Linked DNA regions of Homo sapiens: region 1 is linked to region 2. The links are contacts of gene promoters, found by promoter capture Hi-C in human tissues and cell types (Jung and others, 2019). All regions are on one chromosome and are shown on one strand. The core of a region is centred on a gene start or on the middle of the fragment in contact, and the rest is flanking DNA. Distances in the headings are between cores, read along the strand shown.

Region 1 (2,776 bases), core at 1-2,500, 37 kb after region 2:
TCCTTGCCTTCAAACTTGCTGTTCTATTAATACATCTCGTATTCCTTAAGCCACCCCTGTTGATGCCATCATCCCATTTGGGATGCTACTCACACTGATTCTTCCAGGAAACCCTCCCAACTCTTTGCATGCCCTAAACCAGGGCTGGCAAACACCAAGCTTTGTGTTTCCAGTCCATTTCTCACCTGTGAGAGACATCACTAATCAGTCATATCCCTCTTTCCTGCTGAGTTCTGAGTACTTTACAGCTCAGCACCCAGGCAGCCACCACTGTGACAACTGACCATTAGACAAAGCTCATTTGCCACCCTGGACCTGAGTCCTTGCATCCAGGTGCCTCTTCCTTCTCAGCCTTACCTTGACCCCCCTACTCCCTCTTATCCAAAGTCCTTGCTTTTCTTTTCCACCGCTTCAGGCAGAAGCTCTCCGGAGGATCCAGGTGGTGCATGCATTTGACATCTTCCAGATGCTGGATGTGCTGCAGGAGCTCCGAGGCACTGTGGCCCAGCAGGTGAGCCTGCTGTTCTGCCCCTCCTTGCTTAATTCAGCTTTCTAGGTGCTATCTCTGTGGGCAGGTGTCCTACTACAGACTGTTTGGAAATGCAGATGTGCAATCTGGTGACTCCAACTATGCTTGCTACTCCCAGGATGGAATTCCCGAGCACCTAAATCACATACCTCATTGTTTACATGTTCATCTTCCCTGCTGAACAGTAAAGCCCCCTGAGTGGAAGGATCATGTCATATTTATGTCTGCATTCCCCACTAGGTGAGTGAGGAATACTTTTAGCTGCAAGTAATAGAGGTTGTCTGACAGAGACTTGAAGCTTGAGGACATTTAATTATGTCACATGAGTTGGGAGGTTGGCAGGTCCATGCTATCAGGGCAATAGATTTGTGTGTCTGATTTTCTTGTTCTTCCCCTCATGGTTGCAAAGAGGCTGCCAAAGCTCCAAGCATCTTGTCTTCACACATCCACATCCATATTCAAGGCAGTAAAAGATAGATGGTTCTTTTCTGTACCTCCTCCCTTTTATCAGGGATGAAGAATCTTTCTCCAGAGCCCACTAATAGACGTCCCTCTTCCCCTTACATCTAGTTGGCCAAAATGGGGTTATGTGTGTATCTTGGACTAAGACCTGGGCCCACCATCCCTGAAGTCAGATTTCTGCCCAGTCGCTGAACACATTCAGAGTCATGTTAATGGGAAGGATTTAGAATGGCATTTGGGTTGGCACTTTGCTACTCATGTTGGGTGCTTAGACAGGATTTGGTGCACTGATTTATAAATGACTAGATGTGGAGGATACCTTAAAGATAGAATAGTTTATCTCAAACTTTTCCTCTCACCCCAAAGCATGACGTGTTCACACGGGCATCCCCACGACTATATATAAAGTCAATGATTTTTACAAACTTTAGAACATATAATAGTTGAACAAGCTGGGAGTGGTGGCCCACACCTGTAATCCTAATGACTCCAGAGGCTGAGACGGGAGGATTGCTTGAGCCTAGCAGTTGGAGGTTGCAGTGAGCTATGATCATACCACTGTACCTTAGCCTGGTCAGCAGAGCTAGACCCCGTCTTTAAAAAAAAATGTTGAACAAATACTTACCTCAGAAGTCATAGCTGGTTATGACCCACCAGCTTGTTGAGACATGAAGCTGAGTAGTGCTTACCTCACTTTTAGAGATGAGAAGAGTGAAGGCCGGAGAAGTGAAGTGAGTTGACCAAAGTTGACCAAATATTTAGGGCAAGAACTAACCTTATAGCCCAAACCTCTCAATTCCAGATCAGAAGACTGTATTTTTTACTGTAGGACCATTAGATGATATATCTTCTATTATTGCATAATAAGTTACCAAAACCTTAGTGGCTTAAGACATAGTATTTCTTATCTCACAGTTTCTAGGGGTTAAGAATCTGAGACTAGGAGCGGTGGCTCACGCCTAAAATCCCAATGCTTTGGAAGGCCAAGGCAGGAGGATCACTTGAGCCCAGGAGTTCAGGACCAGCCTGGGCAGCATAGCAAGACCCTGTCTTAAAAAAAAAAAAAAGAAAAAGAAAGAAGAAAAGAAAAAGAACCAGAATCAGGATATAAGAAGTAAGGGAGAAGAGAAAAGAAGCATCAAAAACAGTTTAAGTCCAGGGAAACCAGGAGGATTCTCCTGCTTGTGTAAAGACAGAAAATTATGGTTAGAAAGATGGCACAGGCTAGGCTTGGTGGCTCATGCCTGTAATCCTGGCATTTTGGGAGGCCAAAGTGGCCAGATCACTTGAGGCCGGATTTCGAGACCAGCCTGGCCAACACGGTAAAACCCCGTCTCTGCTAAAAATACAAAAATTAGCACCCGTAGTGTGCACCCAATGTGTGCACCCATAGTCACAGCTACTTAGGAAGCTGAGGCATGAGAATCGTTTGAACCGAGGAGGCAGAGGTTGCAGTTAGCTGAGATCATGCCACTGCACTCCAGCCTGGGTGACAGAGCAAGACTTAGGGAATTTATTTGGAGGCATTTTAGATACGGAAGATGAGGCCTAGAGGCATGATCTAGAAGGAGACAGTGAAGTAAAGAGAAGGCTAAACTCTTCAGCAAAGGAAGTTAGGAATTTGAGGGTGGTAGTTAGCAGGACAAGGGAAAGAAAGGAGGGAGTCAGAAAAGGAAAAGAAGGGCCTTACCACCATGGTGGGAGGCTGGACACAGGAGAGAGATGGCTGCTGAGAGATCCATGACCAGAGGCCTCAGGACTCTCTGCGGAGCTTTCTGAAATTTG
Region 2 (6,460 bases), core at 1,842-4,341:
GTTTGTTTGTTTTGGTTTTTTTTTTAATTGAGACAGGGTCTCGCTGTCACAAGTGGAAAGCAGTGGCATGATCACGGCTGACTGCAGCCTTGACCTCCCAGGTTCAAGCAATTCACCCATCTCAGCCTCCTGAGTAGCTGGGACTATAGGTGCATGCCACCTGGCTATTTTTTTTGTAGAGACATGATCTCACCATGTTGCCCAGTCTGGTCTCAAACTCCTGGGCTCAAGTGATACTCCCACCTCGGCCTCCCAAAGTGCTGAGATTACAGGTGTGAGCCACTGTGCCAGCTGGATCTGTGATTTCTAAATGTGAGGAATACCAGGATGTTTTGAAAACATACAACAGGGAAATATGACATCATATGACATCATTTCAAAGGTTTCCCTGCGTAAGTGATAAATGAGTTGATACACATAGAACTCCGACAACGTCTGGCAGAGAGTAGGCACTCAATACATTTATTGGATGAATGAATAAATATTCAAGGCAAGACCTGAAGAATGAGGAACTATTCCTGTATTAGTTGGCTCTGGCTACCATAACAAAATAGCACAGACAGGGAGGCTTCAACAACAGAAATTTATTTTCTCACAGCTCTGGAGTAGAGAAATCCAAGGTCAAGGTGCCATGAGGGTTGGTTTCTGGTGAGGCCTCTCTTCCTGGATGCAAACAGCCACCTTCTCACTGTGTCCTACTATGGCCTCATCTTTGTGTGTGCTCAGGGAGGCAGTGCGGGGGGCGGGGAGAGACAGAGAGAGAGTACTCTGGAGTCTCCTCATTTCACAAGGGCACCAGTTCTATCTGATTAGTGTCCTACCCATACAAACTCACTTATTAACCCTTCCTATGTCCTTTCAGGGCCCATCTCCAGGCCAGGCATGGTGGCTTACACCTGTAATCCCAGCACTTTGGAAGGCCTAAGACAGGAAGATCATTTGAGGCCAAGAGTTCGAGACCAGCTTAGGCAACAGAGTGACAGCCTTGTCTCTACAAAAATTTTTAAAAGTTAGCCGAGTGTCAGGTATAGTGGCACACACCTGTTGTCCTAGCTACTCAGAACACTAAGGTAAGAAGAGCACTTGAGCCTGGGAGTTTGAAGCTGTGTGAGCTATGATCACACTACTACACTCTAGTCTGGGCAACAGAGTGAGACCCTGTCTCTAAAAAAAAAAAAAAAAAACAATAATAATAATATATGCTATCTCCAAATACAGCCACATTCAGAGCTAGGGCTTCAATATATAAATTAGGGCAGAGGCGTCCAATCTTTTGGCTTCTCTGGGCCACAGTGGAAAAAGAATTGCCTTGGGCTACACATAAAATACACTAATGATAGCTGATGAGCTGAAAAAAAAAATCGAAAGAAAATCTCATAATGTTTTAAGAAAGCTTACGAATTTGTGTTGGGCTGCATTCAAAGCCATCCTGGGCTGCATGCAGCCTGTGGCCCAGGGGTTGGACAAGCTTGAATTAGGGGAAGGGCACAATTCACTCCATAACAGTTCCAGACAGAAAAAACTGCATGGGCAAAATCACTGATGCAGGAAGAGCCATGCCTTGTAAGAACTCAGAAAAAGCCAGCAAGATTTAACCTAAAGAGAGGGGTGGCTGGACATAGCAAGGCTGAATTGACCATTATAAGGAGTGTTCTTTTTTTCCTGCATGTAAGGGAGCCGTCGCAGGGTTTGAGGGTGAAGAGCAGCAGGCCAGATTTTTGGTCTGAAAAGATAACCCTGGCTGCATCGTGGAGAATGGGTAGAAAGAGGCAGGAATGGAAATGGGGGGGCTCATCGGGAGGCTGTTGTAGCGGTCCAGGCAGGTGATGATGGTGACTCTGACCAGAGTGAGGCAGTGGAGATGGGGAGAGCAGATTCAAGCTGTGTTCATGAGGATGACTTGGCAGAGCTTGAGACTGCCTGAGCAGTGGAGGGAGAGAGAGGAGAGTTGGCAAGGGAGATCCTTCGTTTCAGGCAAAAGAGCTCAAGTTCATTGCTGTCTGCTTCAGTTCCTCAGTAATATGGGGAGAAAAGGGTTGTAAGAATTAAATGAGTTATGTGGGAAAGCACTTAGAACAATTCCTGACTTGTTGATGTCATTATCACTATTATTGCTTTACAGCATTGATGATTGTAGAAATGATTTGCTTTTGTACTCGAGTATTATTGAGTTGATCCATTTTATTTATTTATTTATTTATTTATTTATTTATTTATTTATTTATTTATTGAGACAGAGTCTTGCTCTGTCATCCAGGCTGGAGTGCAGTGGTGAGAGCTCGGCTCACTGCAACCTCTGCCTCCCAGGTTCAAGAGAATCTACCACCTCAGCCTCTCCAGTAGCTATGACCACAGGCGCATGCCACCACGGCTGGTTAATTTTTTTGTATTTTTAGTAGAGACCTGGTTTCACCATGTTGGCCAGGCTGGTCTCGAACTCCTGGACTCAAGTGATCTGCTCGCCTGGGCCTTCCAAAGCGCTGGGATTACAGGTGTCAGCCACCACGCCCAGCCTTGACTTGATCCATTTTTAAAAGGATACTAATTTCTAGGCTAGGCGTGGTGGCTCACACCTGTAATCCCAGCACTTTGGGACACTGAGGCTGGGGAGTGGGGGACTTGCTGCTTGAGTTCAGGAGTTTGAGACCAGCCTGGGCAACATAGTGAGACCTCGTCTCTACAAAAAATGAGAAAAAAATAACCGGGCAGGGTGTCATGTGCCTGTAGTCCAGGCTACTCTGAGGCTGAGGTGGGAGGATCGCTGTGCCAGAAAGTTCGAGACTGCAGTGAGCCGTGGTGGCACCACTGCCCTCCAGTCTGGGCGACGGAGTGAAACTCTGTCTCAAAATGAAATTAAATTAAAATGGGGCAAGAATCCCTGTTGTGAAGAGTCAAAAGTTTACTGTGTCCTCTAAGACCCTGGCGAAAAATAAATGTGAAGGCTGTTGAGGGGCGGGAGGAGCACCAGGTAAGCCCATTTCTAATCCCTGAGGCCGTGCGCAGCGGGACGCTTCTCCTCCCCAACAGCAGAGGGCGATGTGGCCGGCGGCGACCCCGCCCGACCACGGAGACGGCGCTCTGTCTGCCGGGCTCTTTCTCCTCCACGTGGGGACGCAGGATGGCGGCAGCAGTGCCGGTGGGTGTGCGTGGATGGGGGCGGGGGGCGTCGCCGCGGGGCGCTAGGGCCCGGGTCCCTGAGGCCTGAGAGAGGCGAAGTGGGGCCCTTCTGGGCGGGCGACCAGACTGACTCCCGCCCCACTTGCTCGCGCAGGACGAGGCGGTGGCGCGCGATGTGCAGCGGTTGCTAGTGCAGTTCCAGGATGAGGGCGGGCAGCTGCTGGGTTCCCCGTTCGACGTGCCCGTGGACATCACCCCGGACAGGCTGCAGCTCGTGTGCAACGCGCTACTGGCCCAGGTAAGTGGCTGGCCAGGGCGGCCTCGCATCTCCACCCCCGGGCGGATGCGGTGGGGGAATCATATTACCGAGGGTCTGCGGTTCATGGTCCCCCGCTAACGGACTGTGGTGACCCACCTGGCGTGAGCTCCCACCTATGTCAGAGATGGAATCAGTGGCATAGCGCTTTACACGCCAACCAAAGGGGTCCACCTGCGGAGAGGGGCCTAGCTTTGAACGCACCGGATGCTGTATTTCATTGATTCTTTGTCACAGTCCCCCAGTCTGGGACACGTTAATATCCCCATTTTACAGCGTGGCCCGGAGGGACTCAGTATTTTGCACGATGCTATGTAGTAGGTAGCAGATTTGGAATTGGAACCCAAAACTATCCGAATACCCATGCTTTTATTTATTTATTTATTTACCTTTTTTTTTTTTTTTTTTGAGACGGAGTCTCACTTTGTCGCCAGGCTGGCAAGCTGGAGTGTAGTGGCGTGATCTCTGCTCACTGCAATCTCTGCCTCCCAGGTTCAAGCGATTCTCCTGCCTCAGCCTCCCGAGTAGCTGGGACTACAGGCGCGCGCCACCACACCCAGCTAATTTTTGTATTTTTAGTGGGGACTGGGTTTCACCACGTTGGCCAGGATGGTCTCGATCTCTTGACCTCGTGATCCTCCCGCCTTGGCCTCCAAAGTGCTGGGGATTACTGGCGTGAGCCACCGCACCCGGCCTTTGCTTTTAACCTTTAAGCCAGTGTGTTTACTGAAGAGCTGCCCTGGGGACAGGGGAGGTCCTTAAAATTGCAGTTCCTGGACCCCATCCCAGCCTTACTAAACCAAACTCTGGGATGAAGCAGAAAGTCTACATTTTTTAACAGGCGTTTTGGGAGCTTTTTACACAAATATAGTGTAGTGTGGTAGTTTGGGAAACACTGCATAATGCTATATGCTAATCCTATCTTGGACGTAAAGAACCTGAATTAATCATTGGCAATAGGACATTGAACTAATTACTTAGTTGTTCTGAGCCTCTGCTTTTGAAAACTGTCAGTGGGAATATTAGTATCTACTTCCCACGGTTGTTATGAGATGCAGATAAAGAATTTCAGGCCGGGTGCAGTGGCTTATGCCTGTAATCCCAGTACTTTGGGAGGCTGAGGTGGGCAGATCACTAGAGGTCAGGAGTTCGAGACCAGCTTAGCCAATATGGCGAAAACAGTCTCTACTGAAAATACAAAAATTAGCCAGGCGTGGTGGCAGGCGCCTGTAGTCCCAGCTCCTCGGGAGGCTGAAGCAGGAGAATTGCTTGAACCCAGGAGGCAGAGGTTGCAGTGAGCTGAGATCTCACCACTGCACTCCAGCCTGAGTAACAGAACGAGACTCCATCTCAAAAAAAAAAGAAAAAAGAATTTCCAAGTGCTGTGTAAGTGTCCTGCAACTGCTGTTCAGTGACTTAAAAGGTCTTGCTAGGCTGGGCACAGTGGCTCACGCCTGTAATCCCAGCACTTTGGGAGGCCGAGGCAGGTGGATCACCTGAGGTCAGGAGCTTGAGACCAGCCTGGCCAATGTGGCGAAACCCCGTATCTACTAAAAATATAAAACTTAGCCAGGCGTGGTGATGGGTGCCTGTAATCCCAGCTACTCGGGAGGCTGAGGCAGGAGAATCTCTTGAACCCAGGACGCGGAGGTTGCAGTGAGCAGAGATTGCTCCACTGCACTCCAGCCTGGGTGACAGAGCGAGACTCTTGTCTCAAAAATAAATAAATAAATAAATAAAAGGTCTTGCTCAATGGGCAATGATGGGGGTATCCCTAGCACGATGGCTGAAAAGAAGAAGCTTCACCTCCCACAGCTCAGTGGGGAGCATCCCTGGCAGAGGGTGCCCCTGCACATCCATTGTTGCGGGTTTGTCCTTTACCATTGTCCTTCAGGAGGATCCCCTGCCACTGGCTTTCTTTGTCCACGATGCTGAGATCGTCTCCTCACTGGGGAAGACGTTGGAGTCCCAGGCAGTGGAGACAGAGAAGGTCCTAGACATCATCTACCAGCCACAGGCTATCTTCAGAGTCCGGGCTGTGACTCGCTGCACCAGCTCCTTGGAGGGTCACAGTGAGGCAGTCATTTCTGTGGCCTTCAGCCCTACGGGAAAGTAAGGACAGCTGCAGACTCATGGAGGGGGTATGTGGGGGTGCAGTCTTTGCCTGGTTTGGGGAGGGTCTCCCAGAGTTATAATTGATGGGGCCTCAGGGCTGCCTACCATAGACCCAAGCTCTGGACTCAGCTTGCAATTAAGGGACTTCCTCAGTAGGGCATGGTCCCCAAAGGCTGCTTAAGGACCCCTGCCTTGGACAAACCTCTCCTAGACTTGATTTTTCAAGATCTGAGCTGTGTGACTTGTATAAATCACTTAACCTTTCCGAGTTAATTTTTCATCTGTGAAACTGGGATTAGTTGCTTCTCTCAAACTTAGAAAGGTAATGAGAAGCTTCAAAAGCTGGTTATAGCTGTGGAGAGGAAAGAAATGGCCTCCTGATGTATTCTCCCAGAGGACAGCATCAGTATTGTCTTTCTCCCTTCCAGGGGCGAGGAAAGAGTCCAGTTCCATATTCTATTCACAGAAAGTGATTGAATAGGTGGCACAAATGCACATGTGCAGTGTCAAGCATCCTCTCTTCTTCCCCAGGTACCTGGCCAGTGGCTCTGGAGACACCACCGTGCGCTTCTGGGATCTCAGCACAGAGACACCACATTTCACATGCAAGGGTCAGTATGCAATTAGCCATTTAGGGGGTCTTCTTTTTTTTTGAGACAAGGTCTTGCTCTGTTGACCAGGATGGAGTACAGTGGTGCAGTCACAGCTCACTTGAACTCCTGGGCTCAAGCCTTGAACTCCTGGGTTCAAGCAGTCCCCCTACTTCAGCCTCCAGAGTAGCTGGGATGACAGGCACTTGCCATCACACCTGGCTCGTTTTTTGTTTTCATACAGATGAGGGTCTCACTTTGCAGATTACAACCCCTTAATATCCAGTTGGCGGCTGTCTGTTCCTAGGTAGAGACCATGTCC

The links. Contacts are between HindIII fragments. The study calls those that stand out against the background at their distance.
Region 1: a contact is called between a fragment that was not itself captured here and the fragment with the promoter of NLE1 in region 2, in 1 of the 25 tissues and cell types used here (ovary).

What each region holds. Positions count from the first base shown.
Region 1 is chr17:35,104,121-35,106,896 of GRCh38, reverse strand. RAD51D (RAD51 paralog D) reads left to right here. Exons shown (of 10, transcript NM_002878.4): 6 at 416-511. RAD51L3-RFFL (RAD51L3-RFFL readthrough) reads left to right here. Exons shown (of 7, transcript NR_037714.1): 2 at 416-511. Among named protein-coding and RNA genes, the nearest start is that of RAD51D, 14 kb to the left of the region's middle. The HindIII fragment of the contact is 7,239 bases long and covers 1-2,776 here.
Region 2 is chr17:35,138,934-35,145,393 of GRCh38, reverse strand. It overlaps NLE1 (notchless homolog 1), which reads left to right and starts at 3,091. Exons shown (of 13, transcript NM_018096.5): 1 at 3,091-3,136; 2 at 3,272-3,415; 3 at 5,328-5,545; 4 at 6,080-6,159. The coding sequence starts at 3,119. RefSeq lists an enhancer at 2,783-3,660. The HindIII fragment of the contact is 6,679 bases long and covers 1-5,557 here.